2 separate regions of the Homo sapiens genome follow, and region 1 is linked to region 2. Evidence: promoter capture Hi-C in 16 types of primary human blood cells and fetal thymus (Javierre and others, 2016). All regions are on one chromosome and are shown on one strand. Each heading gives the region's core, a stretch centred on a gene start or on the middle of the fragment in contact. The rest is flanking DNA. Distances are from core to core; before and after follow the strand shown. Region 1 overlaps CFAP61 (cilia and flagella associated protein 61). Region 2 holds the start of CFAP61-AS1 (CFAP61 antisense RNA 1).

The links. Contacts are between HindIII fragments. The CHiCAGO score rates a contact against its expected background, and 5 or more counts as called.
Region 1: a contact is called between a fragment that was not itself captured here and the fragment with the promoter of CFAP61-AS1 in region 2, in 1 of 17 cell types (M0 macrophages). The highest score is 6.2, in M0 macrophages.

The regions. Positions count from the first base shown.
Region 1 is chr20:20,087,622-20,093,549 of GRCh38, reverse strand. It overlaps CFAP61 (cilia and flagella associated protein 61), which reads right to left. Exons shown (of 27, transcript NM_015585.4): 7 at 2,574-2,706. Among named protein-coding and RNA genes, the nearest start is that of CFAP61, 38 kb to the right of the region's middle. The HindIII fragment of the contact is 6,730 bases long and covers 1-5,928 here.
Region 2 is chr20:20,265,248-20,271,305 of GRCh38, reverse strand. CFAP61-AS1 (CFAP61 antisense RNA 1) reads left to right here and starts at 3,469. Exons shown (of 4, transcript NR_183979.1): 1 at 3,469-3,812. All of the region lies in intron 21 of CFAP61 (cilia and flagella associated protein 61), which reads right to left. RefSeq lists an enhancer at 3,740-4,240. The HindIII fragment of the contact is 5,830 bases long and covers 1,006-6,058 here.

The DNA of each region.
Region 1 (5,928 bases), core at 1,332-3,831, 180 kb after region 2:
GGCAGGAGAATCACTTGAACCCGGGAGGTGGAGGTTGCAGTCAGCCAAGATCACATCACTGCACTCCAGCCTGGGCAACAGAGCAAGACTCTGTCTCAAAAAAAAAAAAAAAAAAGAAATACACAATTCAATGGTTTTTAATATATTCACAAAATTGTACACCCATCACCACTGTCTAATCCCAGAACATTTTCATCCCCCCACCAACCAACGACTATGCCCAATATTAGTCACTTCTCCTTCCCCTTTCCCTCCAGTCACTAATCTACCTTCTGTCTCTACAGAAGTGTCTATTCTAGGCTTTCATCTAAATGCCATCATACAATACGTGGTCTTTATGACTGACTTCTTTTCTTTAGCATCATGTTTTCAAGGTTCATACACGCTGTAGCATGTATCAGTGCTTCGTTCTCTTTTATTTCCTGGTACTATTCCCTTGTGTGGATATACCACATCTTGTTTATCTATTCATCAGTAGATAGACATTTGGGCTGTCTCCACTTTTTGGCTATTATGAATAATGCTGCTATGAACATTTGCGTACACATCTCTGTGTGGACATGTGTTTTCAATTCTGTGTATGGAATTGCTGGGTCAAATGTTTAACTTTTGGAGAAAATACCAGACTTTTTCCAAAATGGCCACAGCATTTTATATTCCTACCAGCAATGGATGAGGCTTCCAATTTCTCCACATCCTTGCCAACATCTGCTATTGTCCTGCTTTTTTATTATAACCCTCCTAGCAGAGGTAAAGTGGTATCTTAGTGTGGTTTTGATTTGCCTTTCCTTAATGACTAATGATGTTGAATGTCTTTTCATGTGCTTATTGGCCAGTTGTATCTTTTATTTATTCATTTTTTTTAAAAGTGTCTATTCGAATCATTTGCCCACATTTTATGTGGATTATTTTTCTATTGTTGTGAGAGTTCTTTGTATATATTCTGGATCCAAGTCATTGGCATGGTATGGATAGTTAAAAGCCTCCCAGGTGATCTGCATATATGCCAAGTTTGAGAACCACTGATGTAGAACAAAGCCTCAAACTGCTCATGTCATCCAAGTAAGAGAACTTTTCATTCCAAGTTTCAAGAAAAGTAATATTCTTTAAACAGCTCTTACAGTTTTAACAAATAATGAGAAATGAGTAGATGAAGAATCATGAATTAGAGGGTGTGGGCTGCCTTTTGGGCCCAATAGGCTGGGCCTTCTGATTTGTTTAGAAAAGCTAGAAATTCCAATTTTTACATAGACTTTCATAATTTTTACAATAGCTGCTAATTCAAAAATATTTAATCATATATAACTTGAATCAAATCATGAGAAAACATTGTACAAATCCAAATGGAGACATTCTACAAAATAACTGACCTGTACTATTCAAAACTGTAATTGTCATGGAAGATAAAGACGGATCGGAGAATTGTTCCAGATTTAAAAAGGCTGAAGAAACAGAGCACCTGAATGCAATGAATGGCCTGGAATTACCTCTGCCATAAAGGACATTCCTGGGACTGTCAGAAAAATCTGAATGAAGTCTGTAGATTAGATAAAAGAATTGCAGGAACTAGCTGGGCACGGTGGCTCACGCCTGTAATCCCAGCACTTTGGGAGGCCAAGGCGGGCGGATCACCTGAGGTCAGGAGTTCACCTCAGGTCAGCCTGGCCAACATGGTGAAACCCCGTCTCTACTAAAAATACAAAAGTTAGCTGGGCGTGGTGGCGCACACCTGTAATCCCAGCTACTAGGGAGGCTGAGGCAGGAGAATTGCTTGAACCCGAGAGGCGGAGGTTGCAGTGAGCCGAGATCATGACAGTGCACTCCAGTCTGGGTGACAGAGCAAGGCTCCATCTCAAAAAATAATAATAATAATAATAATTACAGGAATCATAATTACTTGGCTTTGATCATTGTATTGCAGTTATCTAAGAGAGTGTCCTTGTTTTTAGGAAATATACATTGAAATACTTACAGGTAAAGGGGCATTATGTATGCAACTTACTCTCAAATGGTTCAGAATATACATGAGAGAGAGAGAGAGAGCCAGCAAGAGAGAAAAAGAGAGAGAGAGAGGGAATTAGAAAGGTTGAACAAGAGAATGATAAAACAAATGGGGTTGGATGTTAACATTTGGGGAATCTGGGTAGTTATAAACTTTCTTTAAGTGTGAAACTATGTCAAAACAAAAAGTTAAAAAAAATACCTTTCCAACTCAAACAAAATCCATCTGCCAGCAGAACGCTGGTTTGTGACTTCTGAAGTCTGAGATTTGGGGATCCTCAGAAATCCCCCTACGCACCCCTGGGGGGTCTTTTCCATTCCCTCTCACTCTAGGGACAAGGCAAGAATCTACAGCATCGTGGGCATCTGGAAGGACCTCGCAAAAGACAACCTAAAGCCAGTAACCCAGGGGAGGAAGCTGGCCTGGTGCACCACCTGGAAGGGCAGTGGGAGGGCCGGGGTGGCCAGGGAGACAATGGCAGCTCCAGGGGTGCCCAGCAACGCAAGAGCAACACCACTCACATCCCTCCTTCCTCTCACTAAGTGTGTTCCCACATGAATCAGTCACTGACCTCACACACAACAGCATGATTCTCTTCATCTTGGGCCTCTATTAGTTCGGCCAGGAAGTATTCACCGTAAGTTTCCTTCAGAATTGTGTCATAGCGCATAAATATTGGCATGAGATCGTCATGGTCTTCCACCCTGTTTAATAGAAAGGCTGAAGTTCAGTGTTCGTTCACTCATTTTTTTCCTTCAACAGGGCACCAACTGTGTGCCAGACCCTGTTCTAAGTGCCGGGGCTAGAGCAACACTCATGATATCAACTTTCCTTCTTTTTTTTTTTTTTTTTTTTTTTTGAGAGGGAGTCTCACTCTGTTGCCAGACTGGAATGCAGTGGCGTGATCTCGGCTCATTGCAACCTCTGCTTCCCGGGTTCAAGCGATTCTCCTGCCTCAGCCTCCCGAGTAGGTGGGACTATAGGCATGCACCACCACGCCCAGCTAATTTTTGTATTTTTAGTAGAGATAGGGTTTCACCATGTTGGCCAGGATGGTTTCTATCTCTTGACCTCATGATCTGCCTGCCTCGGCCTCCCAGAGTGCTGGGATTACAAATGTGAGCTGCCACGCCTGGCCTGAACTTTCCTTCTAATAGGAGAAACAGACAATAAAGATGTAACCAATTTAGACAATTCTAAACATTTCAAATAATGATACATGCTTTGGGATAGAGAGTGAGAGGGTCAAGTGGTCAGGGAGGACCTCTATGAGGAGGGTCATCTGAGCTGAGAGCTGAATGAACAGAAAGGGAAGAAGCTATGTTGAAACCTAGAAGTGGAACATTGCAGGCAGAGGGAACACAGTTGGCATGTGTGGGTGTGGGATGCAGGGAAGCACTTGTCATGGGCCAAAGGACAAGAGACTAGGGGCAGCACTTCCCAAGGATGTTCTAAGAAACACCACTATGATATTGTCCCGAGCATCCTCTCAGCCCAAAGAATTCCAATGCCTAAAAACAGTAACCACTATAAGTCCCTTCCTGTTTCATAGTTACATATTAAAGACTCTGAGAAGCACTACAGTAAAGAATATTTAACCTTGTTTATGCATTTTTCAAACACTGGCCCATGGCATCCTTTATTCCTGAGATGCCTCTGCACTTGCCATGGAGGGGAAGGCTGGTGAAGTGATGGAGCACTGCTCACCCTCCTGGGGACATCCACTCCGCTTCCATTCTCAGGACCCTCTACAGAGACCTTGACAACTAGTCTGGCACAGGGGGCGGTGGCAGGTGGGAACAAAAACCAGATTTATTGCAGCTTGGGGAGGCTAGCTCCTGTGTTCCATCTTGCTGCAGGATTTAACACTCCTTTCTTCTTTTTAGCACATTCTTGGGTAAGTTTAGTGCTCTTTTTTACCTGTGTGGGATGTTCTTATACTTTGCTTTTTTTTTTTTTTCTCTGATACTCTTTCTGTAAAAATGTTTCAGCATTGTGTTATTTTTTTCTAGTATATCTGCTTTGGCTACTAATGTCTATTTCCTCCCCCTAGCTTTACTATGCTACCATCTTCATCATCCCATTTTATCTTCTAGTATGTTCTCTTTGACGTTAATAGCAGCTCCATCTACTGAGTGATCAGTATATATATATATATATAAAGCTCAGGGCTTTATCCAGATGATTTCTGCTACTGTGTTTCTCACAGTGATCCCAGGAGGGTGGCACTGCCATTTTCACTTTGCAGAGGGAGGAGAGCAAGGCCCATGGGGATGAGGAAATGCTTTGCCTGAGATGACAGAAATAGTTGGCAGCAGAGCCGTGATATGAGCTCTGGTCTAGTGACTTAAGCCCTGCCTTCACACTCTGCTAAGCTGACAATGCACTTCAAAATCTTCCTTTATTTTGACTCTTCTTTTGAACATTTGTAGCTGGAAGCAAAAGAGTTGAGAGGGGAGTCCTTGGCTAGGGGCCAGAGGTTATCGTCCTGCCAGCCCTGCCACCATTCCTCCTGCGCCCTGCAGGAACGAATCCCCTGATCCTGCCACAGCTGCACTTCCTAAGTCTAAATGCTTTAAACTGAATGACCGCATGCACTCTGGATGAAAATCTTCACCCTGCTCCCAGGATGAAACCTTTGCCTCTGCTGACACAAGTGTAACGGTTGAAATGATGCTGGTTTTTCATTAAAAACAGTAAGTATCTTGATGGAAGAACTACACAGTTGAAAAGCCAGGTCTCTGGTCTATAAAACTTCAGAGGGAAGGAGGGAGCCAGCCAACAAGACCACGGTACAAGGAGGAAAAAACACACACAGAAGATGACAACTCGGGATGGGAGGGACCATCACCATGACTCCACAGGTTGAATCTTCTTGTTAACCTCTTGATATGGTTTGGCTGTGTCCCCACCCAAATCTCATCTTGAATTGTAGTTCCCATAATCCCCACATGTCATGGGAGGAAGCTGGTGGGAGGTAATTGAATCATGGGGGTGACTGCCCCCATGCTATTCTCATGATAGTGAGAAGGTTCTCAGGAGATATGATGGTTTTATAAGGGGCCTCCCCTTTCACTCGGCTCTCATTGTTCTTTCTTGCTGCCTTGTGAAGAAAGATGTGTTTGCTTCCCCTTCCACCATGATTGTAAGTTTCCTGATGCCTCCCCAGCGCTGCAGAACTGTGAGTCAATTAAACCTCTTTCCTTCATAAATAGTCTAGTCTCAGGTATGTCCTTATAGTAGTGTGAGAATGGACTAATACACCTCTTGTCAAAACTCTCTGGAAGGAGAGACAGCAAAGGGTCCTTAACCAGGCAACCAGATCCTTTGTTTTTTAAAACTGTCAACCTGGCCCTGATGTCATCACCACCAAACAGTCTTATTCCATGATGCAAGGGCATCAGCAGGAATTTCTAGTGATGAGGCTAAAACAGGAAGCCAGAAACAAATGTCAACCATTTTTTGAATGGGTATGACTGTACTACTGATGCTGCAGTCATTTTTCAAGCTATTTCAGCCCTGCAATAATTTACAAAAGGTAGGGCCTTGACCACTTGTCCATCTATTTCTGCATGTGATCACTGAGCATTATCGGTGGTCACCTGTGGCCCAGTGGACTGAGGCGCCACCATAAATGCATTAAGTCTTATGGTGCTCTTGAAGAGATTAGAAAAAAAAAAATGATACAGCATAGTGGTCACAGCCTGAGCGGGGGAGCCAGGCTGCCTGGGTCTGGATCCTGCTTCTGCCCAGCTGTGACCTTGGGTACTTTACCTCTCTATGTTACCGTGTGTGCATCTGTCACAAAAATAGCAAACGTTAAAAAAGGGTTATGTGCAATGTTATTGTTATTATCATTATTACTTAGGCAGGAGAAACCAAAAAGAACTGAAGAATTTCTACAGTCAGTGGGTGGAATAAGAGAG
Region 2 (6,058 bases), core at 2,220-4,719:
TTTGTTTTGTTTTAAGATGGGGTCTTGCTGTCACTCAGGCTGGAGTGTAGTGCACAACCATAGCTCACTGCAGTCTCAAACTCCTGGGCTCCAGCAATCCTCCTGCCTCAGCCTCTTGAGTAGTTGGGACTACAGCCACGTGCCACTATGCCTGGCTAGTTTTTAAAAAAAACTTTTGTAGAGATGGGGTCTTGCTATGTTGACCAGGCTGGTTCCAAAATCCTGGCTTCAAGTGATCCTCTCACCTTGGCCTCTCAAGGTGTAAATGAACAAATCAGCAACTTTGACAGTGACCATGCACATAAAGCGATCACATTTTAAAGTTTCAACCTGGGGCTGGGTGCGGTGGCTCACGCCTCTAATCCCAGCAATTCGAAAGGTTGAGGCTGGCAGATCACTTGAGGTCAGGAGTTTGAAACCAGCCTGACCAAAATGGTGAAACCCCATCTCTACTAAAAACACACAAAAATTAGTTGGGCATAGTGGATCATGCCTGTAGTCCCAGCTACTCGGGAGGCTGAGGTAGGAGGATCATTTGAACCCAGGGCACAGAGGTTGCATGAGCCACAATTGTGCCACTGGGGGGTGACAGAGACAGGCTCTGTCTTAAAAAAAAAAAAAAAAAGAATAATGCACCAAGATGCAAGAAGTTCTTCAATTTATGTTAATCAAGGGGGAAAAATGCCAGTTTCATCATCCTGGTTCCTAAAGGCAGTATGTAAGAGTTTCAGGAGTTAGAAAACAAGTAATTAAAGGTAAAATGACTTCGCAGGAAAGGAAAACTAAGTTGATTTCCCTATTAAGTTCAAGAAGTAAAATAAAGTGCTAATTCTTTTAGTCATAGATGTACCCTAAAAGTAATGGGACAACTTTTAAAGAAATTATTTTTAGTAGATGCTAAAAAGTCATTTTATTCTTTTGAACTGAGTGCTTGACTTTAAAACATCTGGAAATTGTGCTCTGCTGTCATTTCATGGTCACGCTCAATGCTATAAAGATGAAGCTTCTCCATGGAGAGAATCGGGACTTGGAGGGAAAGATTTGCTGGTCTGGTGGTCTGGCCATGAAGTTAGATCTCAAGAGTATAAGAAATAAATTCAGGATTTATGCACACAATATTAACATGAAGTTTTCTTCATAGTTATTATATTTTTAAGGCCAGAGAAACAAGAATTATATGTTACATTTTATAGTTTATATATTTTAAATTATGTCTATGCATATTTACCTATTCTTTTGTATTTTAATGAATAATTATGTTTCCTTTTTCTGCTTCAAAACAGACATACAGTGGTTACATATGACTCATTCATCCTCACAACAGGCCTGTGAGACAGGGTTTATCATTTTATCCAGAAAATAAGGTACAGAGAGGTTAAATCTTGAGCTCAAGGTCAGGTCACATGGCAAGCAGGTGGGTCACCAGGACTCAAACCCTGTGAGTCTATTTCAAAATCAGGTCTCATAGCACTGCAGTACACTTGCAGATGGATATGTAACACGTTACTAAAATATACTCCAACTGGCATTTTATATGGGTAAATATCTTCAGCAAATAACTAGATAATGAAATATTTTTAAGTAGCAATCACAGATTATTAATAAATTGTGAAATAAACACTCATTAAAAAACAGGCCAGGAGTGGTGGCTCATGCCTGTAATCCCAGCACTTCGGGAGGCGAAGGCGGGAGGATCACTTGAGGTTAGGAGTTTGAGTCCAGCCTGGCCAACATGGTGAAACCCCATCTCTACTAAAAATACAAAAATTAGCCGGGTATGGTGGTGCATGCCTGTAATCTGAGCTTCTCAGGAGGCTGAGGCAGGAGAATCACTTGAGCCTGAGAGGCAGAGGTTGCAGTGAGCCTAGATTGCACCACTGCACTCCAGCCTGGATGGCAGAGCAAGATTCTGTCTATATATGTGTGTGTATATATATATATGTACACATATACATATATGTGTATGTTACATTTTATAGTTTATATATTTTAAATTATGTCTATGCATATTTACCTATTCTTTTGTATTTTAATGAAATATATATGTATATATGCACATATACGTGTATATATATACATATATGTATATATGTGTATATATACATATATGTATATATGTGTGTGTATATACATATATGTATGTGTGTGTGTGTGTGTGTATATATATATATATATATATATATATATAGCCCACGAATAGAACCAGACAATGCGCTTTTTACTTTTTAGAAGCCAAAGCATAAGATTTCTATGCCCAAAACGTGACCTGTCCCGTTCTGCTCTGCTGAATAAAAAGGGAAGAATATATTAGATATAACATAACAAAGCCTCTGTTCGATGATGCATGCAGTGGAATTTTAATGTTATACTTTTCCTACAAACATGCTTTTAATAAGGCAGTAAACTGTATTTAGCTAAAGATGAAAATAATTGATCCATTTTGAGCCATTAAGGTAGTTTATTTTTTTTACTTTACTTTCATCCTACTTTTCATTTTCATGGAAAGTACAGAGGTAATAGCAGATGAATTTCAATTAGTTTCAATTAGTGCCATAAATTGTTATAATGTATCGGGTTGCTGGGTTCTATCAGAAACCCCCCAGCAGAACACTCCAGGTTTTGTTTGCAGTTGAAAGCAGCATTTGAGCCTGTGATGTCAGCTCTTCTCCATGGCACTAGAGCAGTTCTAATAGTTTAGGGTAATTTACTTCTATAAATCCATCCAACTCTAGAGCCCGGAAAACCATGTCCTCTGGATGGACTAATTCCATCACAGAACCACTGTGTTCTCCTTTGGAAGCAGAAGATGTGAAATACAACAGTGACTGTGGGAAGGAGCTACTCTCTGGGGTGGTATCTGTGTGCGTCTGCAATGGGTAGAAGTTCAAAGGAGAGCCGACTTCCTCCTGGGAGTATCTCTTGTTCTTGATGCCCAATATCCACTGTTCTAGAACAATCCATCCACCATTCTCCCCTCACATCCCTGGGCTTCAGTAACATCAGCACTGGTGTTTGTTAGGATTCAGGGTGTGGTTCCCGGAGGGACATGTCACCCAACCACAGCCAGTGGGACACGATGAAACTATTTTTCACTGTCCTTGGCTCCCTTGCCCCAACTCACATGCTAAAGTATTTAAAAAAGGGGAAATTAGCACTGAGGGAGTAAAAATAAACTATGATGAAAACTGTCCACATTCCTCCTGGTGTTATTAGGGTGACATGAAGAAAAAGCAAGGACTGAAATGTCCAGGACGGTCACGGATGGCTCCATGCGACTTTTCAAACGTGCATAAGCACAGCCCTGCTCCTTGCTTTCCATCATGTGCCAGACTTCTAGCTTCTGGCTTCAAATGCCAATGAGACAGGCAGGTGGGAGGGAGTCCCTAGAAAAACTCCAACCAGCCTGCACATTGGGGTGGAGCCTCCGGAAATGCATGCCATCTGCAGTGGGGAGGAGCCTGGCCCCTCCTCTTCCTGTGTGGAACCTGGGAATCAAGTAGCCGGCTTGCCTTGCGGAGGATCCTGCTTCCCCCTCCTCCACCCCATTTTTTTCCTTTCACCCAGTAAAACCCTGTTTAACTCACCCTTCAAACCGTCTGCGAGGCTACGTTTTCGTGGCCACGGGACGGACAAGGACCCCATCTTTAGCTGAACTACGGAAAAGCCCTGCAACACCACCATCTCATCGCTGACTTGGAAATAAGCTAGCAGTGGCTGTGTCAGCAAGACCACCACATGCAGCAAGGGTGGCCACTTCCAGCTAGCTCCTGCATCCACAGCTGCCTCGCCCCTATTGGCTACTGCCATCCATGGTAAGCCATTCTCCCGTGGTCACCTTCTCTCTGCTGGCATGGGTACTACAGATGGAAAGGCCATTTTCCCAAAGTGCTATGTGTGTACAGCGGCACCCGCCTGGTCAGCTCCCATCCCTAAAAGGTAACCAGTTAAACTTGGACGTGGCTGGGTGCTTGCGGCCCGCCAGTGTCTGTCCCTGCCCATGCCTCTGGCTTCATCTCCTGCTGCTGCCCTTCACAGACTCTGCCCAGCCCACGTTGTTGGCCCAGTGTCTTTTGGACACAATCCAAACTCCCCCAGCCTCTCTCTCTTCTTATCCTGTCCCTCTTCAAGACTGAGCTCAAATCCTCCTTTCTCGGGGAGGCCTTCTCCAAACTTCACAGCCTCCAGGGCTCTCCTGAAGGCCACAGTGCCTCTATAGCTGACTGGCACCTGGTGTACACGGATCCCTGTCTTTAAATAGAGACTGATATCCTCAACTTCATCAGGGCCCTGGTGGCAAGGGCTGAGACTTCTACTCTAGGGTACCTTTAATTCCATCACACATAGAAGTAAGAGCAATGCTAATGGCAGCCTCTATGAAACTCTTTCTATGTATGAGAGACTGTCCTGAGTATGGCATGTAATCTCATTTATCTCTTTTCACCCTCTCAGCAACCCATGTGAGGTAGATATTATCTAGAATCTGAGACACAAAGCAGTTAAGTAACTTGCCCAGGGAAACGGCAGACCCAAGATTTGAACCCAAGTCACGTGACTCCAGAACCTGAGCTAGACTGACTTTATAAATGTCTGTTATTCGTGAGGAGGAGCTTAACTCATCCTGTGTAGCCAGCATGTTATTACTCTCATTACTAAGGATGAATTTTTAAAGAATAGCTTCAATTTCATTCAAGGGTTCTCTTGTCTTCATCTCAATTGACCATCTATTTCCAGGTAGGCCGAATGCAAAAAGTTTTGATAAAACTCACCATGTGGGAGGTAAGGAAAAGAGTTACATCCTGAACTGTCTTCACTTACATTCAGTAAAACATTTATTTTGCATTTACTATGTGCCAGGCACTATGCTGGATACAAGTGACACTGAGATAGAGTAGAGCTGAAATTATCAAAGAAATGGCTTGGAGCTTCAGCCAAGTATGGTACTGTAGATGTCTCAGAAGCAATGCTGCAACAGCTATATTCTTTTCAAAATGCAGTTCTGGAAAGATCACTAGGCTTTCTGCAGTATGAAAAGGGATTTGAAAGCCCAGCAATGAAACTCAAGTATCATATACCCAAAGTCTCAGTTAAGAAATAGAGGTCACAAGGTGACTGAAGTGATTTGGCATGAATTTGTATTTCTATATGGAATGCCCTCCCAGCTAAATGTATTTCAGCCTGCCAGAGAAGCCAATGGTTTATTTAGGAGGCTCTACCTCGAGGCCTCCTCTCACACTGGATCCTACTCTTTGCTGCATTTCCTGGGAGCCTCTGTGGGTATAATTCTGTCTGTGGTTGTTGGTTCTTGGCTCAGGTGGGGACGGGCTTTCTGTCCTAGGCCTCCTCTGCTCTGAGATTTGGACTGTGATCCAGTGATGCTGCAAGAATAATAATGGCAAGAATAAGGTCTGAATGGGACTAAAGTTATGTCTGAGTATGACCTGGATTACAGAAAAGATACAAAGAGGAGAAAGTTTTTTTAAGGCAAGATGTTAACATTTTTTCTTAACTTTTTTTACTTGAGAATTTACTTGAAAAGGGCCTCTACACAGAGTTAAATGAACTTGGCCAGGTCAGGTTTCCCTGAAGGCTCCCAGAGCTTGGTCCTAGCATTTCAGTGTTAAGAGCACCTACCTGAGAGGTGCCTGGGGGAGTCATTAAGCACCAGACCTGGAGAAAATCACCTACATGTAAGACAGGAAACTAATTTCCACATACTTCTTATCCTGGCTATTTGGTGGACAAAAGCAGGCACTCCAAATGGCTTTATGCACTGGCTGCTGGGAGTCAGTCTTAAATCTTGAAAAAACATTTCCCTTTAAGGGGGCACCACAGCATCACCATCCCTGACAACTGGGCAAGTCAGCAGAATAACACTGATGCTCTTCCTCCATCTGAGAACCAAGAGGACAATACAAAGGCACATGAAAGAGACTACAGCGCTTCTTGCTTTGGGGTTTCTAAATTCTCTGCTATCAATATTCCACCTTAAGACCTTGCAGTGCCACTTTCGAAGGCTCTTTTCTTGGTCAAATGCTCCCTAGCCCAAACAACCAAAACA